Regions from separate parts of the Homo sapiens genome. Here regions 1 and 2 are each linked to region 3. Evidence: promoter capture Hi-C in human tissues and cell types (Jung and others, 2019). All regions are on one chromosome and are shown on one strand. Each heading gives the region's core, a stretch centred on a gene start or on the middle of the fragment in contact. The rest is flanking DNA. Distances are from core to core; before and after follow the strand shown.

Region 1 (3,087 bases), core at 546-3,045, 1.2 Mb before region 3:
GTTTTCCACAGCATCTTAGAGCTCTTTGATGATGCTTTTCTTCAAGGTGCAGGTCGGTTATCCCTTTCATCAGTTGGGTGGGGCAGTCATGTGATGATGGGCAGGAGTAGGAATGGTGACTCCATAATTTCAGCAATCAGGCAGGAAGAGGGTGGAAAGGAGTTATCTAGAGCAGTGGTCCCCAACCCCTGGGCCACAGACAGGTACCAGTTCATGGCCTGTTAGGAACCGAGCCACACAGCAGGAGGTGAGTGGTGGGTAAGCAAATGAAGCTTCATCTGTATTTACAGTCGCTCCCCATCGCTTGCATTACCACCTGAGCTCCACACCCTGTCATATCAGTGGCAGCATTAGATTCTCATAGGAGCTTGGACCCTACTGTGAGCTGCATATGGGAGGGATCTAGGTTGCGTGCTCCTTATGAGAATCTAATGTCTGATGATCTGTCACTGCTTCCCATCATGTCAGATGGGACCATCTAGTTGCAGGAAAACAGGCTCAGGGCTTCCACTGATTCTACATTATGGTGAGTTGTATAATTATTTCATTATATATTACAATGTCATAATAATAGAAATAAAGTGCACAATAAATGTAATGTGCTTGAATCATCCCGAAACCATCTCTCCTCCATCTCCAAACCCGGTCTGTGGAAAAACTGTCTTCCATGAAATTGGTCCTGGTGCCAAAAAGATTGGAGACCTCTGACCTAGAGGCCTTTTCTTGAAGTGAAGTGGTAAAATAAGCATGGTATTTTTTAAAATGTAGATCGCAAAGTACGGATCAATTTTTAAAGCAACATTTTTGAGGTTTTTTTCATACTTGACTTAAGATTTAGGTGACTGCTGGAGATCACGAGTAAAGAAGAAAATTTCCAGATGGATTTGTCTACAGGAGGAATGATCAATTTAAACATGAATGATTATAATAGATTTATGTCTTATAAAATTGGGGAGTGGGTGGGTTCTTAAAATACATTTTTTAACTATCATATTGGGGTTTTTAAATTTAAAATGTAGTCCATGTATTTCCACATATATTGTAGGGGGAAATCACACAAAATATAAATAACTGTAAAAAGAAAAACAACAGCAAAACAAAACCAGCTCTGCTCCTCACCTAAACATATACAAACATGTCTATATTACACAAACGTAGGAAGACAGGAACACCCGTCAGGAACGTTGGAGAGGGGATTCCCAGCTTGTTGGATGAACTAAGCTCTAAAATCTTTTTCATTTCAGAAATTCTCAAATTACTATGATCAGCACACTCACACTGTATATTGCCCTCTCAAGGAAAAATAATCACTTGGGGTTTTTGTTGTCCAAAGACATATTCTTCCTTTCCCCAGAGACCAACATGTTTAAATACTTTATTGTCAGAAAACGGAGAAGTTTTCTTTAAGTGTTTTTACATTTGTTTACCAAAAACAAGTTGAGCCAAGTAGAGTTGTTGCTTGTGTCATCTAATCATCATCATTAAGCTTGCATTTACTTCCTAAGTGCAGATAGTATTGCACACAAGATATTGGCTAATCACCACCACAAACTACATAGAACATATACTTTATTCCCATTCGCCAGATGGAAAAACTGGTTGAGAGAGAACAAAAAACTTGCACAAGGTCATCATCCAATAGGGGAGGGAGCCAAGATTCAAAACTAAGTAAGTCTGGTTCCAAAGCCCACAATTTTTTCACGACTCCAGATGCCCAAGAGGTTATGTAATACTCTCTCTGCCTTCACCTGAGATTTCTAAAACGTTTAAATCTTTATTCACAACTAGCAACCAAGAATAGTATGCTCAGAACCATATGTGCTGATAACTTTAAGATGTAATATTTTTATTCCTTTTTAAAAAACTTCCCCCTGCCCCTACACACATGCATGCACGCAGGCACGCGCACACACACGCACGCACACACACAAACACACAAACACACATTTCCCTCCTATGTCTTCCTCTGATACCAGACGTGGGCCAGCTGTGATTCTGCCTTCATATATGTTGCAATGAACAGAGAACCTTGGGTTACCACAAGGGGATGGAGGTTTATTTTAAAGACACTAGAGGCTGTAAGGAAACACAGCAGCACAGCCAGGCCCTCTAGAGACCTGGAGCAGTGGCTTCTGGGGACTCCCAGAGCAGCCGTGGTGGTCAGGCTGTCTGGTTGGGCTGCTCTCCACTTTAGCTATGACTTGACTTCTCTTTGACTCTTCCTCAATCTGCTTCTCTTTCTATTCCCCACTTCTCTTTATTGCTGCCTTTGCTTCTATATGTGTCTTCCTACAGCCTTTTCCCAGGCTCATGGCTTACAGTCAAGGGCTGAGGCCCGCTCTGAGAATACTTCCCCCAAGAAGGGAAATCTGATCAGATCTTTGCCTCACTATGCAAGATGGAGCGTCTCTATTGGGCAGAGGATTCATGACCACCTTACAGGCGGCTAGCTTATTTTATTTTTATTATTATTTTGAGATAGAGTCTTGCTCTGCTGCCCAGGCTGGAGTGCAGTGGCATGATCTCAGCTCACTGCAACCTCCTCCTCCTGGGTTCAAGTGATTCTCCTGCCTCAGCCTCCCAAATAGCTGGGATCACAGGCATGTGCCACCATGCTCGACTAAGTTTTGTATTTTTAGTAGAGATGGGGTTTGCCATCTTGGCCAGGCTGGTCTTGAACTCCTGACCTCAGGTGACCCACTCACCTCGGCCTCCCAAAGTGCTGGGATTACAGGTATGAGCCACCGCACCCAGTCTATTTTTATAGTTCTTGCCTTTAAGAGGGCCTTGGTCCCTGATCCAGGCAGGTAGGAAAGTTACATGACCTAGAGCTGCTCACGGGTAGAAGAAAGGGCCTGGGCTTGCATTCTCCCTAAGAGCACTGCGGGTGGTTCAGGGTCTAGTGTGGAGCACGTGTTAGCTGGGGAAAGCTCCTTTACTTTAATTACTGGTATCAGTAAGTGAAAATAGTAACAACTTTTTTTTTTTCTGAATCCTATTTCTGAAAAATAAATGAAAAGTAATAAAATTCTCACATGGTTAGAAAATTTAAATCATTTGTCATTCATTTACTACATTTGAGTATAA
Region 2 (3,033 bases), core at 530-3,029, 1.2 Mb before region 3:
AGTGTGCGTCTGGGTGTGTTTCGGCTGCTTTGTTTTTCCTCTTGCCTTTTCATCCATCCACTATTAAAAGTGGAAAGAGGGAGGGGTCGAGATTAAAGTTTTGCTGAAGCACACTCGTAAAGAGGGAAGATCATTCATGTGCTGGTTACAGGATGGATGTTAATCACGTCTTTTTTGACAAGTTGATTTTCAGAGAAAATTTGGTGCTGAATTTTTTTCCACTGATCTTTTCAAGCTTTCTTCAAAACATATTTTTGTAAACCCTAAGTGAAAAATATGCTAAGAAGAAAAGAGATTCTTAGCGTGTTTTTCACATAGGGTTTATAAAAATCCTGGGGTTTGTTGACAGCATGTTCAAGGAAGACATTCTGATAGCTCTACTCTTGCCTTTTCCAGTAATGACAACAACAAAATAACAACACAATAAATGGGCAAATAAAGCTATGGGATTCCAGCTGACTGCCTCTGAAGTTGATCTCAGCCTGCATGGTGTCCAGTCAAAACCGGATGTGGGGATGACAAAACTGCCTCCCTTCCTTCCCTCCACGGTTCTCTCCCGTAATCAGCTTTTCTACCACACAGCGAGCAAGGCCAACTTCCCTAAACTAAGAATGCTGAGATTCTTTTCGACTTATAATGTTCTGACTGTCTCTCTCTGTTTCCCCTTACCTCAGAATTTGTTTAATAGAGGAAATATGTTATGTCTACAGATATTTTCTGAAACTGAAAGAATGAAACCACCCACCTGCCATTTCCTCCCTGAGACCCATAACTGGACAGGAGGGAGGTGTCTTTGACTAAGAATTTAGTTCCTGGCTCCCAAAGGCATTGACTTTGTGAATCCAGGCTGAGGGAGCAATGCCCAGGGGAGGGAAGTGGGCAGGGCAGTAAGGGAAGCTTCTCAGCACTCTGAATTCCTGTTTTTCCCCACAGACTCATCCCCACTACTCCCAGTTGTGTACATGATTACAAGTGTGTGTGTCTCTGCCCACCCCTAGCCCATACCTGGGCATTTCTTTTTGGATTCAGGGCAGTAAAAATATGCTGTCAATTAGATGTAATCTGTAGTTAGTTGTGTTTTTTTTTAACAAAACCTTATTGATATATAATTCACAAACCATAAAAAATTTCACCTTCCATAAAAAATTTCACAAACGATAAAAAATACACCCGTTTAAAGTGTATAATTCAGGCCGGGCATGGTAGCTCATGCCTACAATCCCAACACTTTGGGAGGCTGAGGCAGGCAGATCACCTGAGGTCAGGAGTTTGAGACCAGCCTAGTAGAGAAGGCGAAACCCCGTCTCTACTAAAAATAAAAAAAATTAGCCGGACGTGGTGGCACATGCCTGTGATCTCAGCTACTTAGGAGGCTGAGGCAGGAGAATCGCCTGAACCCAAGAGGCGGAGGTTGCAGTGAGCCAAGATCACACCACTGCACTCTAGCCTGGGTGACAGAGCAAGACTCTATCTCAAAAAATAAATAAATAAATAAATAAATAAATAAATAAATAAATAAATAAAATAAAGTGTCTAATTCGGAGGCACCTACCTGCCTCTTTTTCCCCCTGCTGTCCAGTGGGTCACCACAGAACAAACACACACTTGTAATCATGTACACCCATCAATCAACAAACACACACTTCCCCTCTACCTCTACACCTCTACCTCTACCTACCTCTACCCCTACCCCTACCCCTACCCCTACCCCTACCCCTACCTCTACCTCTACCTCCACGGTCTCCCTCTGATGCCGAGCCGAAGCTGGACTGTACTGCTGCCATCTCGGCTCACTGCAACCTCCCTGCCTGATTCTCTGCCTCAGCCTGCGGAGTGCCTGCCATTGCAGGCGCACGCCGCCACGCCTGACTGGTTTTTGTATTTTTTTGGTGGAGACGGGGTTTCGCTGTGTTGGCTGGGCTGGTTTCCAGCTCCTAACCGCGAGTGATCCGCCAGCCTCGGCCTCCTGAGGTGCCGGGATTGCAGACGGAGTCTGGTTCACTCAGTGCTCAATGTTGCCCAGGCTGGAGTGCAGTGGCGTGATCTCGGCTCGCTGCAACCTCCACCTCCCAGCTGCCTGCCTTGGCCTCCCAAAGTGCCGAGATTGCAGCCTCTGCCCGGCCGCCACCCCGTCTGGGAAGTGAGGAGCGTCTCTGCCTGGCCGCCCATCGTCTGGGACGTGAGGAGCCCCTCTGCCTGGCTGCCCAGTCTGGAAAGTGAGGAGCATCTCTGCCTGGCCGCCATCCCATCTAGGAAGTGAGGAGCGCCTCTTCCCGGCCGCCATCCCATCTAGGAAGTGAGGAGCGTCTCTGCCCGGCCGCCCATCGTCTGAGATGTGGGGAGCACCTCTGCCCCGCCGCCCCGTCTGGGATGTGAGGAGCGCCTCTGCCCGGCCGCCCATCGTCTGAGATGTGGGGAGCGCCTCTGCCCTGCCACCCCATCTGGGATGTGAGGAGCGCCTCTACCCGGCCGCGACCCCGTCTGGGAGGTGAGGAGCGTCTCTGCCCGGCCGCGCCGTCTGAGAAGTGAGGAGACCCTCTGCCTGGCAACTGCCCTGTCTGAGAAGTGAGGAGCCCCTCCGCCAGGCAGCCACCCCGTCTGGGAAGTGAGGAGTGTCTCCGCCCGGCAGCCACCCCGTCCGGGAGGGAGGTGGGGGACAGCCCCCGCCAGGCCAGCCACCCCATCCGGGAGGGAGGTGGGGGGGTCAGTCCCCCGCCCGGCCAGCCGCCCCGTCCAGGAGGGAGGTGGGGGAGTCAGCCCCCGACCTGGCCAGCCACCCGGTCCGGGAGGTGAGGGGCGCCTCTGCCCAGCCGCCCCTACTGGGAAGTGAGGAGCCCCTCTGCCCGGCCAGCCGCCCCGTCCGGGAGGGAGATGGGGGGGTCAGCCCCCCACCCGGCCAGCCGCCCCGTCCAGGAGGGAGGTGGGGGAGTCAGCCCCCCACCCGGCCAGCCGCCCGGTCCGGGAGGTGAGGGGCGCCTCTGCCCGGCTGCTCCTACTGGGAAGTGAGGAGCCCCTCTGCCTGGCCACCTCCTC
Region 3 (2,909 bases), core at 397-2,896:
GGTTATATCCCTACAAAACTCACTCAAAGATGTTATCTGAGATACAACAGTACCTTTCAGAGGGGGTAAGAGATCTAAAAAACTTGGAACTTTAAAGGCCAGACTGAGCAGGGTAGCAGTATCACAGGAGAAAGCGCCTTCTACCAAAGACATCAAAATCCGTCCAGACACTTACCTTCAGGCGTTTGATCATCTCGTCCGTGGTGATCTTGTCGGTGATCTCTTTTACCCCCGGAGGGTAAGCGATCTTCCCGTCGGCACTCACGACGCCACAGAGGGCAGTGGCAGGCTTGGGCTGCGCGGTGAAGTCCATCCTGGGGGACAACTTTTGGTTCACAGTCCTCTACCGGCCTCTATCGGTCAGAAAACCAAAGTTCAGCGGGAAAGGGGCGACTTTGTAACCTCTTTTTTCATTTCAAATCTCTCTAATCTGGAAAAGGCCCTGTCTCCCCAGAGGCCGGGGACCCGGCAGCGGCCTCGCCACCCGCTCTTTCCCAGGGATCGAACCCCGCCGGCCCCGCCAACCCGGCCCTGCCAGCCCCAGGCTCACGGGGCTCCTCCGCACCAGCCGCCGTGGCCGCCGAACAGCGCCAGGAGTTTCCCATTCCGCCTTTCACAATGAAATCCACCCCCGAGCACCAGGGTCCGAAGTTTGGCGGCCCCGGGAGGCCGGCAAGGACCCCAAGGCCCCCGCTCGGCGGTGGGGAAGCACCCAGTCCCGCCCGGCCAGTCCCCTCCGGGAAACCAGACCCGAGGCCTATAGGGCTCGGCTTAGGCCGCAAAACTAGGGACCCAGCGGACCCACGCGCAGCGGCGGCTGCCGGGAACAAAACGCCCTTGCCCAGCCGAGCCTCGGACCCGGGGTAGTCCCCGCCGCGCTGCCACCCCTCCCCTGTTCCGCTCCCTCACCCCCGCGGGAGGGGAAAACAAGCCGCCCTCCACCCTCAGCCCCACGCCAGGAAGCGGCTGACGCGCCTCCGCACTTCACATTTTGTTCCTTCAACTTCGGCTGAGGGACCCCAGCTGCTTCTCTGGCCCCCGGCCGCTTGGCGCCTCCGGCACCGCCGAGGCCTTCCCGGCACCCTCGGGCGGCCCCACCGGGCCTCGGACCCGCGGCCCCCCCCTCCAGTCTCCCCTTCCGTCCCCTCCCTCCAGCAGCCTAGGGCGGGAGCCGAGCCGCCGCCGCCTTTACCTCCTCCTCATGCGGGCGGAAGGTGCATCGAGCGCCCGGGCCTCTGTCAGGTGGTTGCGCCGCCGCCCCTAGTCGGGCTGCACACAAAGCGGCTCCGCGGGTCCCGCCGCCGCCGCCGCCGCCGCCCGCCCGCCCGGGAGCGGCGCTGGGGCTGGCGGTGCCGAGGAGGAGCAGCCGCCGCGGGGGGAGACGCGGGGCGAGTGAGCGCTGGGCGGGGAGACAGTGCCGCTCTCCGTCTGGCCGAGGAAGAGCAGCCTCGAAGGCTCCTCCGGGAGTGTGTGCGCTTGTGTCCGTCCGGGACCCCCGCGGCCCGCCCGCACGCACCTCGCGCCGGCCCGGACCGCCGACTCGGACCCGGACGCCCCTCGCAGAGGCGCGCGCCCGGCCGTCCGTGCCCCGGGAGCCGGGGCCTCGCGCACACACCGGCCGGTCACGCGAGCGGCGCGAGAGCACGCGAGAGCAGCGCGCGCTCCTCGCTCCCTCCCCTTCCTCCGCCGGCCGTGCATCCGCCTCCCTCGGGCCCGAGGCGGCCGCGCGCAGGGCGGACAGCGCCGCCACCCGGTTGGCGCCAATACCTGCCGCGCGGGGCGCCTCCCGGAGGACCCGACCGGAGAGGGCGAGAGGAGGAGGAGCCCGGGTGGCGGGAAGCGAGCCCAGGTTCCCGCGGCCTTGCGAGGGCACGCAGGGCAAACAGTGCTTTATCTTTCGCAGCGGCGATGAGCTGGTGACTTTTGGGGGTCATCCTGAGGGACATAGACGAAACTGGTTGGGAGGTAGTTAATTGCTCGGTGAAAATGAACTGATTTCCTCCTCAGGGAGAGATCTGCAAAGTCAAGGAAAGTTGTGCAATGGGGCGCAGCGTGAGCGGCTCACTCTCGGGTCTTCTGACAGCCACCCGAGTTGCCCACCCTCCTTAGATTTCTGAAGTTAATATTTTGAAAGCTGCAAAACATGAAAATAGCATTGGGTCGAGTCGTTCTCAAGGTATGGTCTTTGGGCCACCAGGCCTCACAATCACTTTGGGTACTGGCTGAAAACGTAGGTTTCCAACTCCAAAGATTAAAAAACATAAAAATATATGTTTTTTTAACGTAAAAATATATATGAACATAAAACATATAAAAATATAACATATAAAATAAAACACTAAAAAATATAAAAATATACATAAACATAAAAATCTCTGAGAGTGGAACCCAGAAATAAGCATTTATTAATTGGGTGGGTGATTCTTGTAAATAAGGAAGAGCTCATTTTTTAAAAATGTTTTAAACCTACCAAGCATTAACGTTTTCTGTCATCCAAAGGAAAACCACTATCAGGTAAAAACAGTGCACGCAGCAGTGTTTGAGCAATTTAATGTATGTAATTGAAACAAATTAACGCAAGAACATACACTTACCTATTTAAAAAAAATCAAGAGCATACACAAAATTTCCGAAGAGAAAGTTGAAAAAAGGATACGATAATATGAAATCACATTCAGCTCTTGAAACTGACCACTACCATAGTTTAAAATGATATTCGATTGTTTATTCAAATTATTCTTGATGGGTACCCATTGGTCTATTTTTTTCCCACATCCTTTAACGTCAACTTAAAAATAGTAAAGGTACTGCATTTCAGCTCACTGACTTGTTTTTGACGTATTACACAAGAGCAGTCATTGCGAATCTGACACTCCACAGTTGCTGATTTGCTAGAACTCTGCCCAAAA

The links. Contacts are between HindIII fragments. The study calls those that stand out against the background at their distance.
Region 1: a contact is called between a fragment that was not itself captured here and the fragment with the promoter of PDS5A in region 3, in 1 of the 25 tissues and cell types used here (lymphoblastoid cells).
Region 2: a contact is called between a fragment that was not itself captured here and the fragment with the promoter of PDS5A in region 3, in 1 of the 25 tissues and cell types used here (spleen).

Annotation. Positions count from the first base shown.
Region 1 is chr4:38,784,054-38,787,140 of GRCh38, forward strand. No RefSeq gene overlaps it. Among named protein-coding and RNA genes, the nearest start is that of TLR10, 2.6 kb to the left of the region's middle. The HindIII fragment of the contact is 4,349 bases long and covers 1-3,087 here.
Region 2 is chr4:38,805,134-38,808,166 of GRCh38, forward strand. It overlaps a transcript of TLR1 not described here. Among named protein-coding and RNA genes, the nearest start is that of TLR1, 1.9 kb to the left of the region's middle. RefSeq lists an enhancer at 489-658. The HindIII fragment of the contact is 5,621 bases long and covers 1-3,033 here.
Region 3 is chr4:39,976,265-39,979,173 of GRCh38, forward strand. PDS5A (PDS5 cohesin associated factor A) reads right to left here and starts at 1,647. Exons shown (of 33, transcript NM_001100399.2): 1 at 1,193-1,647; 2 at 176-353. The coding sequence starts at 313. RefSeq lists an enhancer at 1-894 and silencers at 432-1,181, 1,232-1,871. The HindIII fragment of the contact is 8,894 bases long and covers 1-2,909 here.